Linked DNA regions of Homo sapiens: regions 1 and 3 are each linked to region 2. Evidence: promoter capture Hi-C in 16 types of primary human blood cells and fetal thymus (Javierre and others, 2016). All regions are on one chromosome and are shown on one strand. The core of a region is centred on a gene start or on the middle of the fragment in contact, and the rest is flanking DNA. Distances in the headings are between cores, read along the strand shown.

Region 1 (3,060 bases), core at 311-2,810, 520 kb after region 2:
GTGCTTTGTTTTCTCCATAACATCTCTTGCCACTGACATATACATTTGTTTCTATACTGATTATCTATGCACACTAGACTGTAAGCTCCATAGGAGATGACCTTTGTCAGTTTTGTTCACTGCAGAATCTCTACCTACTAGAACAGGCCTGACACATGGTACACATTTAGTGGACATCTGCTGAATGAATCAAAAAACAAAATTATGGTGAACCAAGAGCTGGAAGGCAGAATAATGCCAATTCAATTGAATCTTTCAAGGCTCTTAGAGGTCATTTGCTATAACTTTATCATGTCACTTTGAGAAAACCAATTTGGAGCCATTGAGAGATCTACTGAAAACTCACTGCAAGTTACTAGTAGAAACTAGAATGCTAGCCTCCCAGACTACTTTCTTCCAATATGCCATCATCTCTCTTAGTGTTCCCCCAAATTACTCTCTTCTTTATTAATCATGCCTTTCATCTTAGGATAATTCAACCATTAAAAAAGTATTCTTACATTATCATCACTAAGCTAAGGTATTGAACTCAACTCAAAGAAAGAAACTGAGACCCAATGAAAGAGGAATTTCAAAGACACTCAAACAAATAACGAAGCTTAGAATTAAATAGAAAATGGGAAAGGTCTTTCCTACCACTTAATCCACATCCCTGCTTCCATGCCAAACTAAAGTCATCACATGCCCCCTTCCATTTGCCTTTCATTGTTCCCATTAATAGATTAGAAAATTGAGGCAGAGACTAAGAAGAGAGAATTGTCCAGTAAAACTAACATAGAAATGCAATTTCGTGGTGGCTTATGGTCATGATTACACAGAGACATTTACTGAAGAGGAATAAATGAGGAGGCATTTCATATCTAATAACCCAACTTTCATCTCTAGTCACTTCAAGTATTTAGTATGTGTGAAGGAGAAGGACACTAGAAAACATGTCAAGCTGGCTTACAGGCACCAGATCTGAGAACTGGAGGATTTCTTTAACCATTCAAGTTCTGTTCATTTGCTATAAACAGCAAATCTGGCTCTTAGCCCCACTCTTACAGTGGAAGATTAACATGATAACAGTTGCATGACTTCCTCTCCCTAAAGATTCATCTTTAACTTCCTTTGGCTAAATCACAAAGTGTGTTTTTCATTTATTGTTGAGCGAAAGAGAGAATGTAGTTTCTTATAACCATCCCCCCAATTAAAAAAACACTCAGCTTAAGAAAACAAACTTAAGCAATAGTCATTTTTCAATTTGTCTATAAAAGTAGACATTTTAAATTTTTCATTACAGAGAAAAGTTTTTATTTATTTTAATACTACTTGAAATAGTTTCAAAGTGTTGGGAAATAAGTGCATGAATCAAAGGCATATCCAAAGAATCCTGTAAATTTCAGTGAAATCCTGTTTGCCACAGATTTGGAGCATTTTTCCTCTGTCCTTTTGAACTTGTTTCTGTTCTGCTGCTCTTGCAAAATATCCTTATGTATAGTTTAAGACCTCTGGCGGGGAAGTTCTCTTCATAGCTCACTTGCAAATCATTCAGTGAATGGGTAGAGATGTCTGTGGGTGGGGAAGGGAGCTGAGTAATCTTCATATCAGCCTGGCTCCTTTTTTCCCCAAGATCCTAAAAGAGCATTACAGACCCAGAGACAGCTGGCCTTATTTGTAAGAAAATTCAAATCTAACATAAGCTCCCAGTACCAATATATAGAATATGGATAGGCACAGGCCTTCAAATCCCACTGGCCTTTAAAATGTAAATAGTACTAGCGATCATGAGTGCAATAAAAACATGTGAGTAGGGAGTAGGGGGAGGGAATGGGACTAGGATGAATGGATCCTCTTTTGACTCCAATCTCTGTTTTAATATTGAAGGCATGGAGTTTTTATCACCCAATCCCAGCCTACAGCTGATGGCTAAAATTCTGGCCACCCAAGAAGAATCTTAAAAATATAATGAAAATATATTGTTAACAAATGGTCTTCTAAGATTTGGTAGTGTGTGCGCACACTGTGGGGCTAGACTTCTCAGTGCCTAACATCAGGAATATCCTTAACCCATCTGGAGACTTGTCAACGCTACTTAAGAAGGTCCTTGGGGCCCCATCCCAAATTTGAGAGTCTTTCCTCTCTGAAATCCAAAGGGGGAGCGAGAGTCATTTATCTAGAAAATATATGACCAACGGTTGAAACTTGGCATGATGTCAACTCAAGTATTCTCTTACTAGGCACACAAAAAAAGTCATTTGGAGAAGACAAGGCACCTGGAAACACTTCTATTCTGCCTTGATTCAATTCAATAGGTATTTACTGAATTGAACAATACATATTTCTAGGCTTGTTGACCCTTCTCAACACCATAACCTAATGTGGACAACGGGTCTTATGAATAAAACATATGTAACCATCTCCGCTGAAGAAGTCAAACGTTTATGACCCCCAGAATTCTGAGCTTCTGGTCCTGCAGTCCAGGCATCTTAAAGACTTCCGGCATTCTGCTAGTGTTACATTCATTCATTCCATCATAACTAGCAAGCTTTTAGGGCAAAGAATGAGGATTCTTCCTTTGGTGAAACTAGGTTTGCCATAACTGTCTACTCACTAGCACTCCTTAGGTCACAAGTCACTACATCTAGACAAGGGAAAAATTCAAGTGACTCCTTCATGTAGTTGTCATTGAAAGATGCTAACAAGAGACCATTTTCCCAGGGCCATTGACAATAAGATGTTTTGCTGAGCATGCAGTTGACATGAACTCCACACACAGACACCTTCGGCCAACTGTCAGCACATTTGAAATTCACACCTTCCTGCCTGTCATCCATCATTTCTCTTCATGGCTCCCAGCAAAGATGACTCCAGGCTTTCTTGAATTTGTGCACAGGTTGCTGTTTAAGCTTCCCCCAATCACTGAGTGGGTTTGTATTGCCTCCTCACCTAGATACCTCTCCTACCATTGGAGACTGCGCCATCATTTACTCCCAAAAAAGAAGACTCTGGGGACATGCTAAATATATAGCAGGTATTCAAAAATTCTTTCTGGATAGATGAATGAATGAGTGAGTGAGT
Region 2 (2,846 bases), core at 347-2,846:
GGGCTCAGGGTTGGAGGCCGTACACAGCCTGGACACAAACTGAGCCAAAGAGTTTATTTTTAGCAAATAAGATATGAGTTTTTAGAAAATTGCTTCGAATAGCAAATCCGAGAAACATTATTTCAAAACGTTGGAATCAAAGGAAATCAAATGCCCACAACCCATTTCCGTCAGTGCTTACAAATGAGCTTCTGCAAAACCCAGTCCACTTAAACATTTGGTCGGAACTCACGAAAAGAACCAAAAGCAAGGCATTCCGAGTCCTGGCGGGGGTTGAGCGGCCGGGCGGACGCCTGGCTATCTCTTCTGGGAGTCGCGCATTCGATCGCATTCAGGTTAAAATTTAAAGCCCCTGGATCCTGCTCCAGTCGCCAGCCTCTCCATTCCAGAGTTTTCTACCTTCAGCCTTTTCCAAATGCGGCCACGCTGAAACTGGGAGCCGCCGCAGTGATTGGGGGAGGCAAAGTGGAACGTAATAAAAGTGACTAAATTGGATGAGAACGGTTTCTGGACCTTCTCGGTAGCAATTTAAAATTCAGAAGTGTTTAGAAGCAATTTACAACGAAGAATGAAAAACGAAGAATTCTCGCCAACTTCCTGAATTCCTTGCCCCCTCCCCCGCACTGCCAGGCCCTGTCCCGCTCCCCCAGGAGCCACAAGTTCACAACTCACAGTTACGTGCAGAGGAAACAACGCTTAGCTACGAGGTCTCACCATCTCTGGAAACCATACTTTACAAGGCACCTCTCCACCCCAGTTCAACTCTGCACAGGCTCCTCTTCCTTCCCTAACTGGGAAAACACGAAAATAGAAACAAAACAAAAAACCAGAGCCTAAACGCTTTCTAGGAGACCGACCTTCAGAAAATCATTTACTTGGATTTACCTGGGCGGGGGGTAGGGGGTGGGGTCGGGGTAAAGTATAAAAATTCATTCTCACAAAAACAACGCCTCTTGTCCTAAAGTCTCCCTCGGCAGCCTTCTGGGGTCACGTCTGTCGGAAGAAATCCTTTCTGTAAGCGAAAGGGAGCGAGACATATATCACGGCTCCTGCAGCGGACGAGCCTGCGGCCGCGCGAGTTGCCGCTGACAGATCGGCGCTGATAACCCCGCGACGTTCATTTCCAGTCCCTTTTGCCCGCTAGGGACCGTATCAGTTTGTACAGAGTTGTGATAACTGTTTGGAGGGAGCGAAGAGGGGGTGTGTATATGAACGTGGGGGTGGGGAAGCAGCATTTAGCGCTGGGTCCAGGGAAGGTGACACCCCCTCTTCGCAGTGACTTATCTGTGACTTACCTGAAACTCTCCAGGGAAATATCAGAAACTCTCCAGGGACATCAAAAGTTGGAGAGCGTCCTCGGACACGACTGATGTGGAAGCCCTTTTCCATTCTGCGTACCCCATAGACTACCTTTCCGTACATGACGACCCGAGTTAAAGTTCCCAAAGGTCAGCTGGGGAATGTTGTCTTGAGGTTCCCGAAACCACCACGACCTGAGCCGTAGCATCCCGAGATAGGGTCGGAGAAAGTTTAAGGTCGGTCTCACACAACTTCAGGGCAAAAAGCGCATTTGCTGTGAAGGGGCTAGGCGGGGGTTGGGGGGCGGGGGGGCGCAGAGCACGTTCCCCCTTCCTTCTGGGGGCGTGCTGACCCAAGGTCTGGAGCGCCCCTCCCGCCGCGGCGGCGGCGCGGGACTGTGCACTGCCAACTCCTCCCGTGCCAAGGCTCCCTCCCCCTCCCTCGTGTGGGTGTGTGTGTGCGACTGCGGGAGCGGGAGGGTGCACCGCCGCTGGATGGGTGCGGGTCGCTAGCCAGGTCAGGCGTTCTGTGGCCTCCGCCCCTCCCCCGGGGTCCCTGGGCTCGGTGCCCCCCGGGTGGACTCGCCCCCACTCCGGGGACAGGGCTTGCGGCTCAGCCCACGCCCGCAGGCAGCGCGGCTCTCATTGTCTGCCTGGGCGGCGCGCTCCCCTCCCCCCTCGCCGTCCCCTCCCCACCCTCTTTTCTCTCCTCCCCTCGATCCCTCCTCCTCCTCTTCACCTCCAGCGCCCAGCTGCTCGCTGAGCGCAGTTCCGACCCACAGCCTGGCACCCTTCGGCGAGCGCTGTTTGTTTAGGGCTCGGTGAGTCCAATCAGGAGCCCAGGCTGCAGTTTTCCGGCAGAGCAGTAAGAGGCGCCTCCTCTCTCCTTTTTATTCACCAGCAGCGCGGCGCAGACCCCGGACTCGCGCTCGCCCGCTGGCGCCCTCGGCTTCTCTCCGCGCCTGGGAGCACCCTCCGCCGCGGCCGTTCTCCATGCGCAGCGCCCGCCCGAGGTTCGGCTGCTTCCTCCTCGCGCGATCTCCCCGCTTTCCTCCCCTCCACCCCTACTCGTCGCGGGCCCCTGGCCTCCGGCTCTCCGGCCCTCTCCAGGCCGCGGTCGGCTCCGACGGTGTTTCCCTCCTTCCCTCCGGGCGGGCTGAGGCGGCTCCCAGGCTCCCGGGACACCGCGGACCAACTTCTAGTCTCTTTTTCTCTCCTCGAAGCGCTTATCTGCGCGCAGCCTTATCTCCGAGTTATCTCGGCGCAAAGGGGCGGGAGCCGGTAGTTAGGCAGGCAGAGAAACTTCTTTCTTGCTATCTAGCCAGGTCTGTGTGTGGGCATTAATTTTAGTGTGGTAATCTCCGATGAGCCGAGGCGATTTGGAAGAGCAGCCTGGAGGAGGCCAGCCCGGCTGCATTTCACCTCCCTCCCCCACTCGCTCCGAGTCTCCCTGTCATTCTTCCTGCTCTCCCATTTGGGGTCGCCTCGGCTCTGGGGCGGTCTCACGCTCCCCCCTCCCCAGCCCGTTGCGTTCCCCCTCCTTTTCTC
Region 3 (2,976 bases), core at 157-2,656, 540 kb after region 2:
GGCTCACTGCAAGCTCCGCCTCCCGGGTTCACGCCATTCTCCTGCCTCAGCCTTCCAAGTAGCTGGGACTACAGGTGCCCACCACCATGCCCGGCTGATTTTTTTGTACTTTTTTTAGTAGAGACGGGGTTTCACCGTGTTAACCAGGGTGGTGTTGATCTCCTGACCTCGTGATCCGCCCACCTCGGCCTCCCAAAGTGCTGGGATTACAGGTGTGAGCCACCACGCCCGGCCAATATTTACTTTTTGAGAATTAAAATGCACAAGTGTATTTAATACCCTGTGAATCTTTACTCTTCACATAAAATCGGTTATAGCTTTCTAGCATAGGATAGGGTCCAAATCCAACCTACCACCTATGTTTGTAAATAGAGCTTTATTGGAACACAGCCATGCCCCCATTTTAATGTATTGTATGAATAACTGCATGCTACAATAGCAGAGCAGACTGGTGGTGATAAGGACCGTGTAGCCCACAAAGCCTAAAACACTTAAAATCTGGGCCTTTACATCAGAAACTATTGAATCTGACATAAAATATACAGTATGTAGTTAATGATGACAACACTTGGGTTCAAACTTACTGGGCAAGGTGATGTAATCTCTCTAAGTCTCAGTTGTCTCACTTCCGAAATGGGAACAATAATGCCTGCTTTGTCTACCTCATGACACTGCAGTGAGGAGCAAATGAAATAACACGTCAGTGTCTATACAAGACGAATGCAGAACACAAGTGCTCCAGAGTCCCTAATCCTCCCACTGCAGCTCTGCGGCAGCTCTAAGACACCGTCCTACATTCCCAGGTAGAGTGAGCCCCATCTTCCTGCTGACTGGATTTCTTTTTCTTTTTCCTTTTTTTGGAGGTGGAGTCTCACTCTTGTTGCCCAGGCTGGAGTGCAGTGGCGCCATCTCAGCTCACTGCAACCTCCACCTCCCGGGTTCAAGCGATTCTCCTGCCTCAGCCTCCCGAGTAGCTGGGATTACAGGCGGGTGCCACCACACCCAGCTAAATTTTGTATTATTAGTAGAGATGGGGTTTCAACTGGTCTCAAACTCCTGTCCTCAGGTGATCCACCCACCTCAGCTTCCCAAAGTGCTGGGATTACAGGCGTGTGCCATTATGCCTGGCCTGGATTTCTCATATTGGTTGGATTCTCACCACCCTCTCCCACTATTGCTACAAAAGGGCTCCCAAATATGCTTCTGGCCCCTGCTACTCTCCTTGTTCTTTGGTATTTTCGTCACCTCCAGCAAATTCAAAGAAAAGGAATTCAGTCATTGCATTGATGGGTAAGAAAGGTTTAGAATAGAGAAAGCCACGTGCAGATATCAAAAGAACACTGTGGCTAGACCCAAGAGTGAGTCAAAGGTATGCTCTGATGTTTGAAGTAAAATGAGAAGACTTTGAAGACAGTGGCCAGAAGTTTACATTTGATGCAATGAATGTGGGAAGTCCCTGGAAGACTGCATGGTAAGGCTAAAGTAGCAGGTGCAAAAAAAGGATCAGAGGACTCCAAGGAGCTGACGTTCTGTATAGGGCTTCCACCCAGGTTCCATTTGACACTGGGGCCCAGCCTAAAAGTTACCTTTCACAGCCTCCCACCCCTGACCCTTGGGTTTTCTCGATGATAGAGAGCCTGGCTCTGGGCCTGACAGTGAGCTGTAGCCTCCAACTGAAAGGAAGCTCAGCAAGAATGACCTTGTTAGACTCATTCTGCAGAGCACCGTGGATGTCAGTGAGCATCTCTTGGAGATTTATGGCCCTGAACCTAGTCTCCTGTTACTTGGTGATTCTGCTGAATTTTCCATTGAGCAATAAGGGCAGGATAACAGCAGAGCTGCTCAAGGTTAGCAGCCTTCTGAAGTCCACCCAGCTCCACAAAACTTCTTCCTAATGATATACAGAAGAGATTTATTGGGATGTTTTTGCAGGCCAGGAAATTGCTACATGATTTTGTCATTGACAAAGGAGCAAACATCACTGCCCACTTTCTGTTGGACTTTCTCCACTTTGCTAGTTCTTCAACTGGAAATGATGAAAATAGGCTGATTCCTGGTTTAGTTACCAGGTGGGAGGGCTACCCAAACAATATTCCAATTTCATTGTTTTCATTTCAGGGATTATTGATGGCAACTTTAGGGCATACCTTATATTTGAACTTCCACTTGGTTTCCTGTTCTTGTGGGATTCATTTGAATTGCTGCTAAGTTGGGCATTCAAACATTTCTCTTATGTTGGTTCTAAACTAGTGAGGGAAAACCACGATGTCAGAAGTAATTTTATTTCCACTGTCTTTTCAGATGTGTCAGGGCTCTTGATCAAAACTGATTTTCCAAAGGAGCAGAAAACCAAACACTGCATATTCTCACTATACGTGGGACCAGTAGGACCAGTAATATAGGGCAGTTAAGACCAGTAAACAAGGAGGAAAGGTCATCAAAGATGATTTTCTTTTGAAATGGGAGATTAGGAGAATAGTGGGGTAACTACTGATAGCAGATTGAGACATTAGAAAGACGTGCCATTTTCAGTGTTTCTTGGTTTTTTTTCTTTTTTATAAAGCCATTTATCTTAAGTGCCTTTTGAAAATATTAATCCTATATTTCAGTTGCATTCAATGCAGTGTTTTGGCACCCATTAAAGCCATGGGTATAGGGAGAAGTGCAAGCGCTCCCAAGTTTGTGAGAGAGTTCTGGGTCTTTGGAGGGAGGGATTCAGCCTGGGAATTCCTAGATTCCTGCAAGCACCTCTGAGTCACTAATTCTTTAAATCACATGTTCCGTCAGCTAAAATAAATTAATAAATAAATAACAATAAGTTACTCTAAGAATTAGAAGGGATGTAGCCTCAGAAAGCCCTTTGGAAGCTCTAAAGTGTAAAAGATATCCCTCATTCCTTCTCATTCCAAAGGAAGTCAAATAGAAAGTAAAACTAGAATATCTTATATCTTACATAGAAAGGTGAAACGACATTCT

Evidence for each region. Contacts are between HindIII fragments. The CHiCAGO score rates a contact against its expected background, and 5 or more counts as called.
Region 1: a contact is called between a fragment that was not itself captured here and the fragment with the promoter of GATA6-AS1 in region 2, in 1 of 17 cell types (endothelial precursors). The highest score is 8.1, in endothelial precursors.
Region 3: a contact is called between a fragment that was not itself captured here and the fragment with the promoter of GATA6-AS1 in region 2, in 2 of 17 cell types (endothelial precursors and megakaryocytes). The highest score is 7.6, in endothelial precursors.

The regions. Positions count from the first base shown.
Region 1 is chr18:22,691,075-22,694,134 of GRCh38, forward strand. No RefSeq gene overlaps it. Among named protein-coding and RNA genes, the nearest start is that of RBBP8, 240 kb to the right of the region's middle. The HindIII fragment of the contact is 1,929 bases long and covers 597-2,525 here.
Region 2 is chr18:22,167,372-22,170,217 of GRCh38, forward strand. It overlaps GATA6-AS1 (GATA6 antisense RNA 1 (head to head)), which reads right to left and starts at 1,597. Exons shown (of 2, transcript NR_102763.1): 1 at 1,296-1,597; 2 at 1-1,012. It overlaps GATA6 (GATA binding protein 6), which reads left to right and starts at 2,218. Exons shown (of 7, transcript NM_005257.6): 1 at 2,218-2,311. RefSeq lists an enhancer at 1-366. The HindIII fragment of the contact is 8,900 bases long and covers 1-2,846 here.
Region 3 is chr18:22,708,095-22,711,070 of GRCh38, forward strand. No RefSeq gene overlaps it. Among named protein-coding and RNA genes, the nearest start is that of RBBP8, 220 kb to the right of the region's middle. The HindIII fragment of the contact is 7,836 bases long and covers 1-2,976 here.